Regions from separate parts of the Homo sapiens genome. Here region 1 is linked to region 2. The links are contacts of gene promoters, found by promoter capture Hi-C in human tissues and cell types (Jung and others, 2019). All regions are on one chromosome and are shown on one strand. Each heading gives the region's core, a stretch centred on a gene start or on the middle of the fragment in contact. The rest is flanking DNA. Distances are from core to core; before and after follow the strand shown. Region 1 has its middle 8.9 kb from the start of CHST7. Region 2 holds the start of RGN (regucalcin).

The links. The method cuts DNA at HindIII sites, captures the fragments that hold promoters and counts their contacts. A contact is called where the count stands out against the background at its distance.
Region 1: a fragment that was not itself captured here is called in contact with the fragment with the promoter of RGN in region 2 in 1 of the 25 tissues and cell types used here (IMR-90 fibroblasts).

The regions. Positions count from the first base shown.
Region 1 is chrX:46,561,053-46,568,724 of GRCh38, forward strand. It overlaps the pseudogene MKI67P1. Among named protein-coding and RNA genes, the nearest start is that of CHST7, 8.9 kb to the right of the region's middle. RefSeq lists an enhancer at 1,055-1,584. The HindIII fragment of the contact is 5,107 bases long and covers 3,842-7,672 here.
Region 2 is chrX:47,074,784-47,081,834 of GRCh38, forward strand. RGN (regucalcin) reads left to right here and starts at 3,660. Exons shown (of 8, transcript NM_152869.4): 1 at 3,660-3,926; 2 at 5,534-6,153; 3 at 6,347-6,524. The coding sequence starts at 6,362. The HindIII fragment of the contact is 11,720 bases long and covers 1-7,051 here.

The DNA.
Region 1 (7,672 bases), core at 5,145-7,644, 510 kb before region 2:
GTGCAGTGGCGCGATCTCGGCTCACTGCAAGCTCCGCCTCCCGGGTTCACGCCATTCTCCTGCCTCAGCCTTCCAAGTAGCTGGGATTACAGGCGCCCGCCACCACGCCGGGCTAATTTTTTGTATTTTTAGTACAGACGCGGTTTCACCATGTTAGCCAGGATGGTCTCGATCTCCTGACCTCGTGATCCGCCCGCCTCAGCCTCCCAAAGTGCTGGGATTACAGGCGTGAGCCACCGCACCCAGCCCTCAGCCTTCTTTGGATTTTCTGCACGCCTCTTGACATTCCACGTTACTCTGTGCATATTCACTCTCCAAAGTGCTTGCTGCAGACTGGCTTTTCATCTTTCTTGCTCTCAAACACATGGAGTCTGAATTTCCTGCTTCTCCTTTCCCTTCCTGATTCTGCACGAGAACCCCCGCACTCTTCTGCCCTCTGCTCTCCTCTGCCACTTTAGGCTGGGAGCTCTTATTCTGTCTAACAGACCTCAAGCACCTTTTGTTTTCACTGACTTTGCCCCTAGGTATGGGTTTCTGGGCTCCATCATCTGGATTTTGAATGTCCATGTCTTGGGAGGTCTTCATGGGCTTGTTTTCATTTCAGTTTATTTGAATTCTTTCTGCTAATACAATGACCTTAGTTATTTGCTGTTCTACATCAGTCTTACTTTGGCGTCTGGAGAGCAGGGACATTCCCTTATTTTCAGGGACTGAGTCTTGTAATTCGTATTCCTCTTTGTTGGTTTTCATGTTATTGCTGTTCAGATCTTCTGCAGGTTCAATTCTTTTTGCAGAAGTCCTCAGACTTCTCTTCATGATGACCAAGGGTTCGGGTGATTTGCCTCTCACCCTGGGAGCAACCCTCTCTGCTTCTTGCTGGCTGGCAGCTCCTCTATGATTTCCTCTGGTGCAGGCATGCAGTGCGGCCTCTTGGTTCCTGTGACACTTCCATCTTTTCCACATCCCCTCTTGAAGGGCAGTGGGGGCAGGGAGGTGTTGCTTTTGCTTTGTGATTTTACAGTCTCTGGTGCCTACCAGGTCTCCCACGGGTTCTACTTTAGGGGCCTGAAGAACTCTTCTGGATATTTTTAGAGGTTTTCCACTGTCAGGTGCTTGCTTTGGAGCACTTGTAAAGCTATCAGCACCATTTGCCAGTTCCTCAGTGTGGCCTGGTGTTTGAGAGAGCTCTTGGAAGCTGGCCAGATCTTCTAGGGGTTGGGCCTTTTCCTTGGGCACTCTTGGCAATCTCCTGCTGCCAGTTACATTTTCTGGGTCCAGCTTCTGCTTTGCAGGTTGCTTAAATGCTTTCATGCCTTTGCCCTCACCTTCTGGTTCTTTATTGGTGTGCGTGGTCTCCCCTGATGTTTGTGTGAGCTTGCCGACTGCTAATAGCTCTTCTTTCACTTCTACTTTCTGGCCACAAGCCCTGGGCCATTTCTTTGAGCTTGTTGCAGTGTCTACTAGTTCTGGTGGTGATTTGCAGGGTATTTTGGTGGTTTTGTCATGAGTCATTGATTCTTCAGTATGACCTGGTGCTGGGTCTTTGAAGCCAGCCAGGTCTTCTAGGGCTTGCGCCTTTTCCCTGGGTGCTCTTGGCCATCTCCTGCTGCCACTTACACTTGCTGCTGGAGCCAGTGTCTGCTTTGCAGATTCCTTAAATGCTCTGATGCCTTTATCTTCACCTACTGGTCCTTTGCTTCCACGGTTTATTGCCCATTTTTATATTGGATTGTTTGTTTCCTCATTGTTTGGAGAGCTCTTTGTATATTCTGGATACAAGTCCTTTGTTAGATATGTTATTTATAAATAGTTTCTCCCAGTATATTGTTTTTTCATCCTCTTAGCATCTTTTGCAGAGCAACAGCTCATAATTTTCATGAAGTCCAACTTATCAAATTTTTCTGTTATGGATAGTGCTTTTGGTGTCATATCTAAGAATTATTGGCCTAACACCAGAAAACAAAGACTTTCTTCTGTGTTTTCTTCTAAAAGTTATACATCTTATATTTAGGTCTATGATTGATTTTTTTTTTTTTAAACAGGGTGTCGCTCTGTCACCCAGGCTGGAGTGCAGTGGTGTGATCGCTGCTGACTGCAACCTCTGCCTCCCAGGTTCAAGCCATCCTCCCACCTCAGCCTCCCAAGTAGCTCCCAGGCATGTGCCACCATGCCTGGCTAATTTTGTTTTTAATTTTATTTTTTGTAGAGACAGAGTTTCACCATGTTGCCCAGACTGGTCTCAAACACCTGGATTCAAGCAATCCACTCGCCTTGGCCTCCCAAAGTGCTGGGATTACAGGTATGAGCCACCAGGCCCAGCCAGGTCTATGATTAATTTTAAGTGAATTTTTGTAAAAAGTATGGGTAAATTTCTGCACTCTCTATTCTATTACATTGACCTACGTATCCATCCTTGCATCAATACCACACTGTCTTGAGTACTGTGGCTTTATAGTAAGTCTCAAAATTAAGTAGCATGAATCTTCCAATTTTGTTCTTATTTTTAAAAAATGTTTTGAATATTCTAATTTCTTTGCCTCTCCATGTAAATTTTAGAGTCACCATGCTGATATCTATAAAGAATCCTGCTGGGATTTGGACTGGAATTGTGTTGAATCTATAGATAAATTTTTAGAGTATTGACATCTTCACAATATTGAGTCTTCCAATCCATGAACACAGTTCTCCATACATTTCTAAATCTCCATATATTTAGCTCTCTTTTATTTCCTTCATCATTGTTTTGTAGTTTTCAGCACATAGATCTAGGACATATTTGTGAAATGTACACCTAAATATTTCATTTTTCTGGTTTTATTTTATTTTATTTTATTTTTAGATTGAATCTTGCTCTGTTGCCCAGGCTGGAGTGCGGTGGCACGACCTCAGCTCACTGAAACCTCTGCCTCCTGGGTTTAAGCAATTCTCGTGCCTCAGCCTCCTGAGTAGCTGGGATTACAGGCGCCTGCCACTATGCCTGGCTAATTTTTGTATTTTTAGTAGAGACAGAGTTTCACCATGTTGCCCAGGCTGGTCTTGAATTCCTGACCGCAAGTGATCCGGCTGCCTTGGCCTCCCAAAGTGCTGGGATTACAGGCGTGAGCCGCTGCACCTGGCCTTCTTTGGTATTATTGTAAATAGTACTTGTGCGGAGAAGAATGATGGCCCCTAAAGATATCCATGTCCTGATCCTTGGAACCTCTGTTTATGTTCTCTTACATAAATGGTGGCTCTCACAGATAGGTCAAGTCAATATCATGAAGATGTCAATTCTCCTTCCTATGTTATGTTATAAACTTACCAACTTTCAGTAAGAATACCAATAAGCTTTTATTCTGGACCTAAACAAGTTGATACTAAAGTTCATATGAAAAAATAAATATGCAAGAATAGCTACATGGTCTAAGTTTCTTGAACCCATCATGTTCCATTTCCACCTCATTCAGTCAGGTCCTTCTCCACCTTCAGATCTCTGCTCAAGCATCCCCTGTGGGAAGTCTTTACTACACACACACACACACACAGAGAAGACAGAGAGAGAGAGAGAGTGAGAGAGAGAGAGACAGAGAGAGAGAGACAGAGAGAGAGTGTGTGTGGGCAGATGTTTTTTTGAGTCTCGCTCTGTTGCCCAGTCTGGAGTGCGGTGGCACAATCTCGGCTCACTGCAACCTCCGCCTCCCAGGTTGAAGCAATTCTCCTGCCTCAGCCTCCCGAGTATCTGGGACTACAGGCGCCCGCCACCACACCTGGAAAATTTGTATTTTTTAGTAGAGACAGGGTTTCACCATGTTGGCCAGGCTTGTCTCGAACTCCTGACCTCAAGTGATCTACCCACCTTGGCCTCCCAAAGTGCTGGGATTACAGGCGTGAGCCACTGCGCCCAGCCCTGGGGCAGACCTTTATGTTATACACTCTCACAGAACTGCGTTCCTCTCCTTCAAGCACTTGGTTCAGTTTGGGGTTATTCACACATTAGGAGACTGATTTGGTTAAAGTTGGTCTCCTCTCTTAGGCTGGAAGGGACAACAGGGTCAGGGACTGTTTTGCTCATTGTGTACCTCCTCTGCCCAGCACAACCCCAGATACATGATTGCACTTGATACATATTTTTGAATAAATATTTGAATACATAAGAAAAAGTCTGGTCTCTAGGTCCATTGTTTTGAAAGTAGTAAAGATGTGATTTTAGCACCCCTATTTATAATGTTGGAAACCTCATGAAAAACAGAAAAGGAGATTGTAGAGGTAGATTAGAGCCAGACTGTGAAAATCCTTAGAAGGCATGTTGGCCAGGAGCAGTGGCTCACACCTGTAATCCCCACGCTTTGAGAGGCCAGGGCAGGAGAATCGCTTAAGCTTAGGAGTTTGAGACCAGCCTGGGCAACATAGTGAGACCCCATCTCCACAAAATATTAAAAAATTATCCAGGCCCGGTGACACACAGCTGTGGTCCCAGCTACTCAGGAGGCTGAGGTGAGAAGATCCTTTGAGCCTGGGAGGTTGAGGCTTTAGTGAGCCATGATCATACCCCTGCACTCCAGCCTGGGTGACAGAGCAAGATCCTGTCAGAGAGAGAGAGAGAGAAGGAGAGAGAGAGAGAGAGAGAGAGGATAGCAGAAAAAACGAATCAAAAGAAATCTTTTTTTCTTTTTCTCAGTCTAAAATGCTAGTCTTATTTTTTTCTCAGCCAAGCAGGCAGATTCTGCCTTCCCAATCTCTATTCATCTTTTTCTTTCCAACTGCCATCTATTTCAAATTCTCTGCTCTTTCATTCTGTCCCAATAGGTCTTCCTCTCTCAATCCCAATCTATGGGATCCCAGCAAGACTATTTTTGGAAAGTCATTTCTGCTAACGTTACTTACTCCCTCAATACAAATCATCAGTAGTTTGCTATCAAAGCTCAAATGTAAAGTGCTTCTTCCCAGCAGTCAATCAGACAACAAATGCTTGTTGAGCACCTACTATGTGCTTGACACCATGATAAGGTCTGGCATTCAAGACCTCTAACAACATAATTTTCAAACCTTAATGATTTGCATCATTATCCAAAGACCAATTGGAAGCCAAGACAGATTCTGAGCAGAGAAATGGCATTGACCGAAATCTATCACTGATTAAAAATTAGGCCGGGTGCAGTGGCTCATGCCTTTAATCTCAGCACTTTGGAAGGTCGAAACAGGCAGACCGCTTGAGCCCAGGAGTTCAAGACCAGCCTGGGCCACATGGTGAAATCTTGTCTCTACAAAAAAAGTAGCCAGGCGTGGTGGTGTGCGCCTGTAATCCCAGCTACTCGGGAGGCTGAGGAGAGAGGATCACTTGAGCCTGAGAGGCAGAGGTTTCAGTGAGCTGAGATCACACCACTGCGCTCCATGCTTGGCGACAGAGTGAGTCACAGTCTCAAAAAAAAAAAAAAAAATTAAAAGAGGGCAAAATAGAAACAGAGACTGGCTAGGCAGTTTCTACAGTGCTCTAGGGGACAGTTGGTCCTCTGAGCTAGGGTAGTAGCAATGGCAATGAAGATAAGTGAATGATTTGAAAGGACATTTAGGAGGTAAAACCCACCTGACTTGATGATAGATTGGATTGAAGAAGAGGGACTGAGGAAGAGGGAGATACCCAGAATGGCTCCTAAGTTTCTGACTGCATAATAGAATAGATAGTTTTATCATTCACATATTAAAATTGATATGCCATTGAGGCAACCAAGAGGGAATGTCAAGTGGGCAACTGGATTTCTAGGTGTGGAGCCCCAAGGAGAGGCTGGGGCTGGAAATGTCAATTTGGAGTCATTGAAGAGATCATAAAGTGAAAAGGAAGAGGGCCTGGGGAATCAGCTTCCCACAGCAGCAACAATGTACCGACTCATAAGACTTAAAGCTTACTCTATGGGATACACTGTTCTGGGATTATACACACACACACACACACACACACACACACACACACACCACACCCAGTTGTGCATTGTTTAATGATGGGGATGCATTCCAAGGAATGCGTTGTTAGGCGATTTCATCATTGTGCAAACATCATAAAGTGTACTTACATAAACCTAGATGGGATAGCCTATTACACACCTAGGCTATATGTACAGCATGTTACTGTACTGAATACTGTAGACAGTTGTAACATGAGATCATATTTGCGCATCTAAACATATCATCTAATCATAGAAAAGGTACAATAAAAATAAGGTATTAGAATCTTATGGGACCTCCCTTGTATATGCAGCTCATCATTGACAAAACATCAGGTGGCACATGACTGCATATATATATATATATATATATATATATATATATATATATATATAATTTAATTCTTACAACAACCCTGCAGGATAGGGGAGGATAGGTACTATTAGAACTAATGTTTGATAAATGAGGCACAGAGAGGTTCACTTACTTGCCCAAGGCCATAGAGCTGAAGTGGTGGAGCTGGCCTATGAACTTGGGTGGCCTCACTCCAAAGGATAAAGGATATCAACTTGGGTGGCCTGACTCCAAAGGTCAATCTCTCAAATGCTATGCTCTGAAGGTGTAGCTATGAACTAGGAGAACAGTTCACATGTGATGTCATAGAAGTTGGCAGAAGAGATGATTTGAAGGTGGGAACTGTCAACAGTGTTAAATGTTATTGATACATATGTACACTTACAATGTGTCAGTTAAAAATGTTATTGAAAGGTCAAGTAAGGTGAGCCATGAAAGTGTCCTGGATTCAGTAACATGGCACCAGGCATGGTGGCTCACATTTGTTATCCCAGCACTTTGAGAGGCCAACATAGGAGGACTGCTTGAGCCCAGGAATTGGAGACCAGTCTGGAATACATAGGAAGACTCCGTATCTACACAAATTAAAAATAAAAAAGTTAGCTGGGAGTGGTGGTGTGAATCTGTGATCCTAGCTAAACTCAAAAAAAAAAAAAAAACCATGGAAGCCATTGATAAGCTTAGAAAGAACTGATGATGTGGCAATATGGGGGCAGAACTCAGATTGGAGTGTGCTGAGGAATTGTTCCTGGACCAAGCCGAGGGTCGGACTGCTTATTCTCTCAGCCCAATTACAAGATGCAGGTGAACTGGGAAAGAAGAGAGTTTTTATTTCTGTAACCAGGTGCAGGGAGAAGGCCTGGAAATTATCACCAGACCAACTCAAAATTACAAAGTTTTCCAGAGCTTACATACCTTCTAAGCTACATGTCTACGTGTAAGTGTGCATTCATCTAAAGACATAAGTGATTAACTTCTTCTAATCTATAACTAAGGTCTGAGTCCTGAAGACCTTCCTCTGGAGCCTCAGTAAATTTACTTAATCTAAATGGATCCAGGTGCTGGGGTGATTGCCCTTATCTTATCTCCTGCTAAATCATGGAGGTTTGGGGAGTTCCTTCAGACCACTAATAACATGTGCTTAATCTTTTTAAATTTTATTTTATTTTTTTGAGACACAGTCTCACTCATTGCCCAGGCTGGAGTGCAGTGGCTCAATCTCGGCTCACTGCAACCTCCGCCTTCCAGGTTCAAGTGATTCTCCTGCCTCAGCCTCCCAAGTAGCTGGGATTACAGGTGCATGCCACGCCCGGCTAATTTTTGTATTTTTAGTAGAGACGAGTTTTCACCATGTTGGCCAAGCTGGTCTCGAACTCCTGACCTCAAGTGATCTGCCTGC
Region 2 (7,051 bases), core at 2,410-4,909:
CCACCCTCCTCTGCCTCCCAAAGTGCTGGAATTACAGGCATAAACCACTGTGCCTGGCCTATAGTAGGTTCTTTCTAACAGCCTGTTACTGAGATGTCCCAGGGTACCCTGTGGTGTGTGTTCTCCCTCCTCACTGTAAAGAGTCAATGAACCCAGATGTGTTTGACTGCAGGTGGTCTGCGAATAAAGAGCACTTATATTGTAATAAAAGATCCCTATGTATCCTCAGAGAGCTCCTGATAAAGCAGGAGAGACACATAAACCAATGGATCTCAGTGTGATGAGTAATGTAATAAAACATAAAGAGGCGCTCCTGGAAGAGCAATAGGTCAGAGAGCGAGGAGGGTCAGCGAAGTCTTCCTGATGGAGGGGACATTCAACTGACTCTTAGTTAGAAGTTAGTCCAGTGCAGAAGGAAGCATTGGATTAGTGGTCAGAGAGAAGTGTTCTAGGCAGAGGGAATAGCAAGTTCAAAGTCAAGAAGCAGAGAACATGGCTAGAACATGAGAGAGGTCAAGAAGGGACTCCCCACAAATTCGAAGAGCCTTGTGTGCTCGGGGTCCATTGCAGGGTGCTATGACTACACTTTTTTTTTTATTTTATTTATTATTATTTTTTGAGACAGTGTCTCACTCTCTTGCCCAGGCTGGAGTGCAGTGGCATGATCTTGGCTCACCGCAACCTCCGCCTCCCGGGTTCAAGCAATTCTCCTGCCTCAGCCTCTCAAATAGCTGGGATTACAGGCACACGCCACCATGCCCAGCTAGTAGAAATGGGGTTTCACCATGTTGGCCAGGCTGGGACCTCAAGTGATCCACCCGCCTCGGCCTCCCAAAGTGCCGGGATTACAGGCATAAGCCACCATGCCCAGCCAATTTAAAAAGATTCATAACCACATATTATGATCAAAGTTAACAAATCAACATTCGTTTGCCTGCAGATGGTGAGGATACAGCATCACTTTTGTAGCATTGCCAAAAAGGCATAGCCTGAATTGACCATGAGGAAAAATCAAGGAATCCCAAATTAAGGGACATTCTACATTTTGAATTCCAAAAATGTCAATGATGTCAGGAAACAAAAATAAAAGGCTGAGGAGCTGTTCCAGGTGAAAAGCAACTAAATGCAGCTAAATGCAATGCCTCGCCCTGGATTGGGTTTGGGCATGAAACATCTTTTTTCCTTTTATTATAAAGGACATTAGTTGGACAATTGGTGAGACTCCAATAGATAATCCTGTATCAATGTTAATTTACCTGATTTTGACCATCGTGCTGTGTTTATGGAAGAGAATACCCTTGCTTTCAGGAAACACACACTGAACTACAGTATTTAAAGGTAAAGGAGCATCATGTCTGCAACTTGCTCCCAAACTGGTCAGAAAAAAATTATATATAGATGTATATGTAAATAAGAGAGAGAAGGGTAAAGCAAATGTGGTAAACTTAACATTTGGGGAATCTGGGTGAAGGGTAATCATGAATTTTTTCTATTATTCTTGCAGCTTTTCTGTAAAACTGAAATTTTTTTCTAAATAAAGGTACCCCTCTCAGCAAAAAAAAAGAAAAAGAAAAAAAAGCATATAGTTTTTGTTGTTGTTGTTTTGTTTTTAGAGACAGGATCCCACATCCCACTCTGTCACCCAGGCTGAAGTGCAGTGTCGCTATCACGGCTCACTGCAAGCTTGATCTCCCAGGCTCAAGCGATGTTCCCACCTCAGCCTCCTCAGTAACTGGGATCACAGCCACCACGCCTGGCTATTTTTTTTTTAATAGAGATGAGATCTTTCTGTGTTGCCCAGGCTGGTGTCAAACTCCTGGCCTCAAGTGGTCCTCCTGCCTCAGCCCCCCAAAGTGCTGGGATTACAGGGGTGAGCCACGGTGCCCAGCCTGAAAAGCATATAGTTGAACAACCTCTATGTGTCAGCACTGTGGCAGGACCCAGGGAGGTGAGGGTGAATAAGATACATCCCCTCCCCTGCAAGACTCACGGTCTAGCAGGTCATTTTGGCAGCAGATCCACAGGGATGAGATGAGGCCTCCGGGAAGATTAAAACAATCTAGGCAAGAAATGGGGAAAGCCTGAATGAATTAAGGCAGTGCCAACATAGAAGGACATTAAAGGGACAATTCTATGACCTGGTGACTAACTGGACTTGAGTTAGGGACCAAGAGGAGGCTCGCGAGGTGTCAGGGCTTCTTGCACAGCCAGTTGGCTGCACCACAGCCCATTTCCCAGGACAGAGTGCTCAGGAGGTTGGTGGGAAATGATGTGATTGGTTTGGGTCAGCTCAGTTAAGCTGCTGGCCTGTATCCTGGGGGCGACATCTGGGCTGAGATAAGGTTAGGGAGACATCAGCACTGAGGAAGTAGAGGAAGAGAGTTATTTTTGTTTGTTTGTTTTTGAGACAGTCTCACTCTGTCACCCAGGCTGGAGTGCAGTGGCATAAACTCAGCTCACTGTAGCTTCAACCTCCTGGACTCAAGTGATCCTCTTGCCTCAGCCTCCTGAGTAGCCGGAACTATAGGCATGCACCACCACACCCAGAAATACATATATATGTTTGAGAAGTAGTTTCACTCTTGTTGCCCAGGCTGGAGTGCAATGGCACAATTTCAGCTCACTGCAACCTCCGCCTCCCGGATTCAAGCAATTCTCCTGTCTCAGCCTCCCGAGTAGCTGGGATTACAGGCATGTGCCACCACGCCCGGCTAATTTTGTATTTTTAGTAGAGACGGGGTTTCACCATGTTGGTCAGGCTGGTCTCAAACTCCTGACCTTAGGTGATCTGCCTGCCTCAGCCTCCCAAAATGCTGGGATTACAGGCATGAGCCACCACACTTGGCCAGTTTTGTTTTGTTTTGTTTTGTTTTGTTGTTTTTTGGGTTTTTTTAAATTTTTAGTAGAGACGAAGTCTCACTTTGTTGCCAGGTTCATCTCAAACTCCTGGGCTCAAGCGATCCACCCTCCTCGGCCTCCCAAAGCACTGAGATTATAGGCCTGAGCCACTGTGCCGGCCCTGGCCATTTTTTTTTTTAATATGGGTTATTTGGAGAAAGCCCAGACTGTCAGATGGCAGGACCAGGAATACATTTAGGCTGAGAATGGGGTTGTGGAGCTGTGTTGTTGAGGAATGTGTTTTCCATATGATTTGAAAATGAAATCGAGCCTTTCCTCTTCCCCCACCAAAAACGTTTTTGCAAGAGTTGGCCTTCAGCCACCAGGGTCTTCTCCACTAGGATGGAGAGGAGCTTTGTTCTTTCCTTTTTAACCTGTTTGGGTTTAACCGTCCCAGTCTCTCTCTGTTCGGCATTTAACAACTTTTCTTGGTTGAAGTAAGAGGTAAACTAGCTATTCGTCCAAACTCCAAAGCTCAGGTTCACTGGGCCGTAAGCCTGTACCCACCATCCCCGGGCCTGCCAGGGGCGGCTTTGCAGGATTCTTCCAGCCGCGGGGGACGGGGACGGGGACGGGGCGGGGTCCCAGGCCCATGCCATCCACCTGCCAAGCCGCCGGGTCCCGGGAGGCGTTTCCCCTCCCCTCGGCCCGCTGCCTGACCTTCGAGCCGCCTGAGAAATCTCCATCCTGGCGAGTGCCCGAGCCAGGCCGGCCTCCCCGCCCCCTCCCTGGAAAGGAAAGGCCCCGGCGACAACAGAGCCAGACCCGCTCATCCCGATCTCCCAGAAGGCGACTGACAGCTGACTGCCAGAAGGAGATCGCGCCAGGAGACTGACTGCTCTGTGCCCACCCGGGGACCCGGGCCCGTTCAGCCGGGCTGGCTGGTGCGCCCTCTGCAAAGCCTGCGCCAGGGAGGAGGCAGGCTCAACCTTCAGATTCCCAGGGCCTCTCTGTCGCTGTCGCCGTCGCCGTCGCCCGAGGTCCCAGCGGCTCTACCAGATTGTTGTGGAGGCCTCTCACCCGCACAGGTACCCCGGGTGCAGCGCGGGCACCTGAAGCCCCGTCCCCGCTCCCTGCTGCCCAGCCACCCCTTTGTGGTCACGGGCCGGGCCTAAATGGAACATTTGGCACCCCCGTCCCCTCCCCACCGGCTTCTACTAGGGAGCATGGGGTTAAAAGTCGCTATTGCAAAAGTCGTGCCACTGCTCTTGAGCCTTATCTAAGACTGATAGGATGAAGGCCTTTGTAGTCTGAACACTGCCCCCCACCCCCGCTTTTTTTTTTTTTTTTTTTTCCGAGACAAGGTCTCAGTCTGTCGCCCAGGCTGGAGCGCCATGGCCCAATCTCAGCTCACTGCAACCTCCTCCTCCCAGGTTCAAGCGATTCTCCGGCCTCAGCCTTCCTAGTAGCTAGGACCACAGGCTCGAACCACTAAGCCCGGCTAATTTTTTGTATTTTTTGTAGAGACGGGCTTTCACCATGTTGCCCAGGCTGGTCTCAAACTCCTGACCTCAATGTTCCTCCCACCTCAGCCTCCCAAAGTGCTGGAATTACAGGCACGAGCCACCAGCACCGGCCTGAGCCCATTTTTAATAGCCAAAAAACATTTCAAATGCTGCTGCAGATGCAGGCAGTTTGTATTTGGGACCAGTTTGGGCTGAGGTTTTTTTGTTTGTTTTTTTTTTTGTTTTGTTTTGGTTTGGTTTGGTTTGGTTTCTGTTTTTGTTTTGTTTTGTTTTGTTTTTTTGTTTTTTTGGTTTTTTTTTTGAGACGGAGTCTTACTCTGTCGCTCAGGCTAGAATGCAGTGGCGCAATCTCGGCTCACTGCAACCTCTGCCTCCCGGGTTCAAACGATTCTCCTGCTTCAGCCTCATGAGTCGCTGGGATTACAGGCACCCGCCACTGTGCCCAGCCAATTTTTTTGTATTTTTAGTAGAGATGGGGTTTCACCATGTTGGTCAGGCTGGTCTTGAACTCCTGACCTCATGATCCACCCAGCTCGGCCTCCCAAAGTGCTGAGATTACAGGCATGAGCCACCATGCCCGGCCTGTGTTTCTTTTTTAAAATGTAGTTTATTGAAGGAAATATTAGATCAAACATTATTTTTCTTTTTTCCCTCTCTATTCATTTGCCCATCATGTGTAGGACCACTTACTTCAAAGCAGATAGCTACCCTGGGAGAAGGATGAAGATGCAGGCCATTTTTATTTATTTATTTAGAGACAGGTTCTCGCTCTGTTGCCCAGGCTGGAGTGCAGTGGCATGATCACGGCTCATTGCAGCCTCCACCTCCTGAACTCAAATGATCCTCCCACCTCAGGCTCCCGAGTAGCTAGGACCACAGGCATGTGCCACTACACCCGCTAATTTTTTGTTGTTTTGTAGAGTCAGGGTCTCACTATGTTGCCCACACCAGTCCCAGACTCCTGGGCCCAAGCAATCTTCCTGCCTCAGCCTCCTAAAGAGCTGGGATTACAGGCCTGAGCCCCTGTGCCTGACAAATGCAGGCAGTGTGGATCATTCCTGGAAACCGCCTACTCAGGGCAGAGGTACAGAAAGAAAAGATTGCTCTTGAAAGTTGCCTGTCTTTCCTCTCCCACATGGGATTCTTATCTGATTTTTTCTCCTTTTCAGATAATTTTTCTCTGTCTTCTCCCAGTTCGCTGGTCATGGTCTCTGGCCTAAAGTCCCAGCATAGACTGTTCCTCTCCTGTGGAGTCTAACACTCTTTGCCAAACTGGCACGGTGTCTTCCTGGGAAGCAAGAAATCACTGAGGGCCTGTCAGTTCCTGCCAGGGTGGTTCGATGCTGTCCTTTTCTCCACTCCTTCCATGGTCTGCGTTGGAAAATGTGTGTTAGTTCGAATTCAGCGAGTTCTCATTGGGGTGAACATAGTCCTAAAAATGCAGTTCATAAAAATCAACCACACAGAGAAGAAAAATAAATAAATCAGTAAAGCAGCTCAGAAAAATGCAGGTGTGGCGGGCCCTGGCCTCTGCACCCTCATAGAGGGGCTCAACAGCATCAACAGAAGGTGGGGGAGCAGAAGGTGCCCTGCAGACACCCAGAGGGGCCACCAATGAGCAAACTGCCAGCTCCCTGACCCGCCCTGGGGCCCAGGGTATTGACATAAAGGACGGCCTTGCACTATTTCAACAGCCAGTTCTCTGAGGGTCACAAACACCAAGGAGTGGAGGTCAGAGTGTCACTTTTTTGTTTTCTTTTTGAAAGATCATTCGAGAAACACGTCACTGGTAAGTTGGTTGAAGATGTTTCATGGTCCCTGTTATCAGCTCTTTTCTTTTGCCTATGTGTCTCTCCCTGTCACATTGCATATCCTGCTCTGATCTGGGGGAAGTGTATCCAGCCTTGCCAGTTCTTAGCCAGGTGTTTTACTGTATTTGTTCTGTGCGATGACCTTTCACTCACCTCTGTTACCTTCAATAGATCTCCCCTGCGACCATGTCTTCCATTAAGATTGAGTGTGTTTTGCCAGAGAACTGCCGGTGTGGTGAGTCTCCAGTATGGGAGGAAGTGTCCAACTCTCTGCTCTTTGTAGACATTCCTGCAAAAAAGGTTTGCCGGTGGGATTCATTCACCAAGCAAGTACAGCGAGTGACCATGGGTAAGGATGAAGGCTGGACTCAGATCAGCCAGCTACCTTTTCCCAGGGGAGGGGCGGTCACCACGGCACCCTTCTTGTTAAAGCACACTGACTACACTTGTCACGCTGTCTGTCCCCACTCCATATCCTCCCACTTTGACCCAGGGTTTAATTATGGATGGTCAATACTTTCCTCTTCCTCTTTGAATGAGGGGCAACATTCCTAGTTTTTTTTTGGGGGGGGGGGTGTTTTTGTTTATTTTTTGTTTTGTTTTTGTTGAGACAGGGTCTCACCGTGTTGCCCTGGCTGGAGTGCCATGGTGTGATCACGGCTCACTGCAGCCTTGATCTCCTGGGGCTCAAGGGATCCTCCTGCCTCAGCCTCCCTAGTAGCTGTGACTACAGGTGCGTGCCACTATGTCCAGCTAGTTTGTATTTTTTGTAGAGATGGTGTTTCACCATGTTGCCCAGGCTAGTCTCAAACTCCTGGGCTCAAGAGATCCACCCACTTCGACCTCCCAAAGTGTTGGGATTACAAGCGTGAGCTA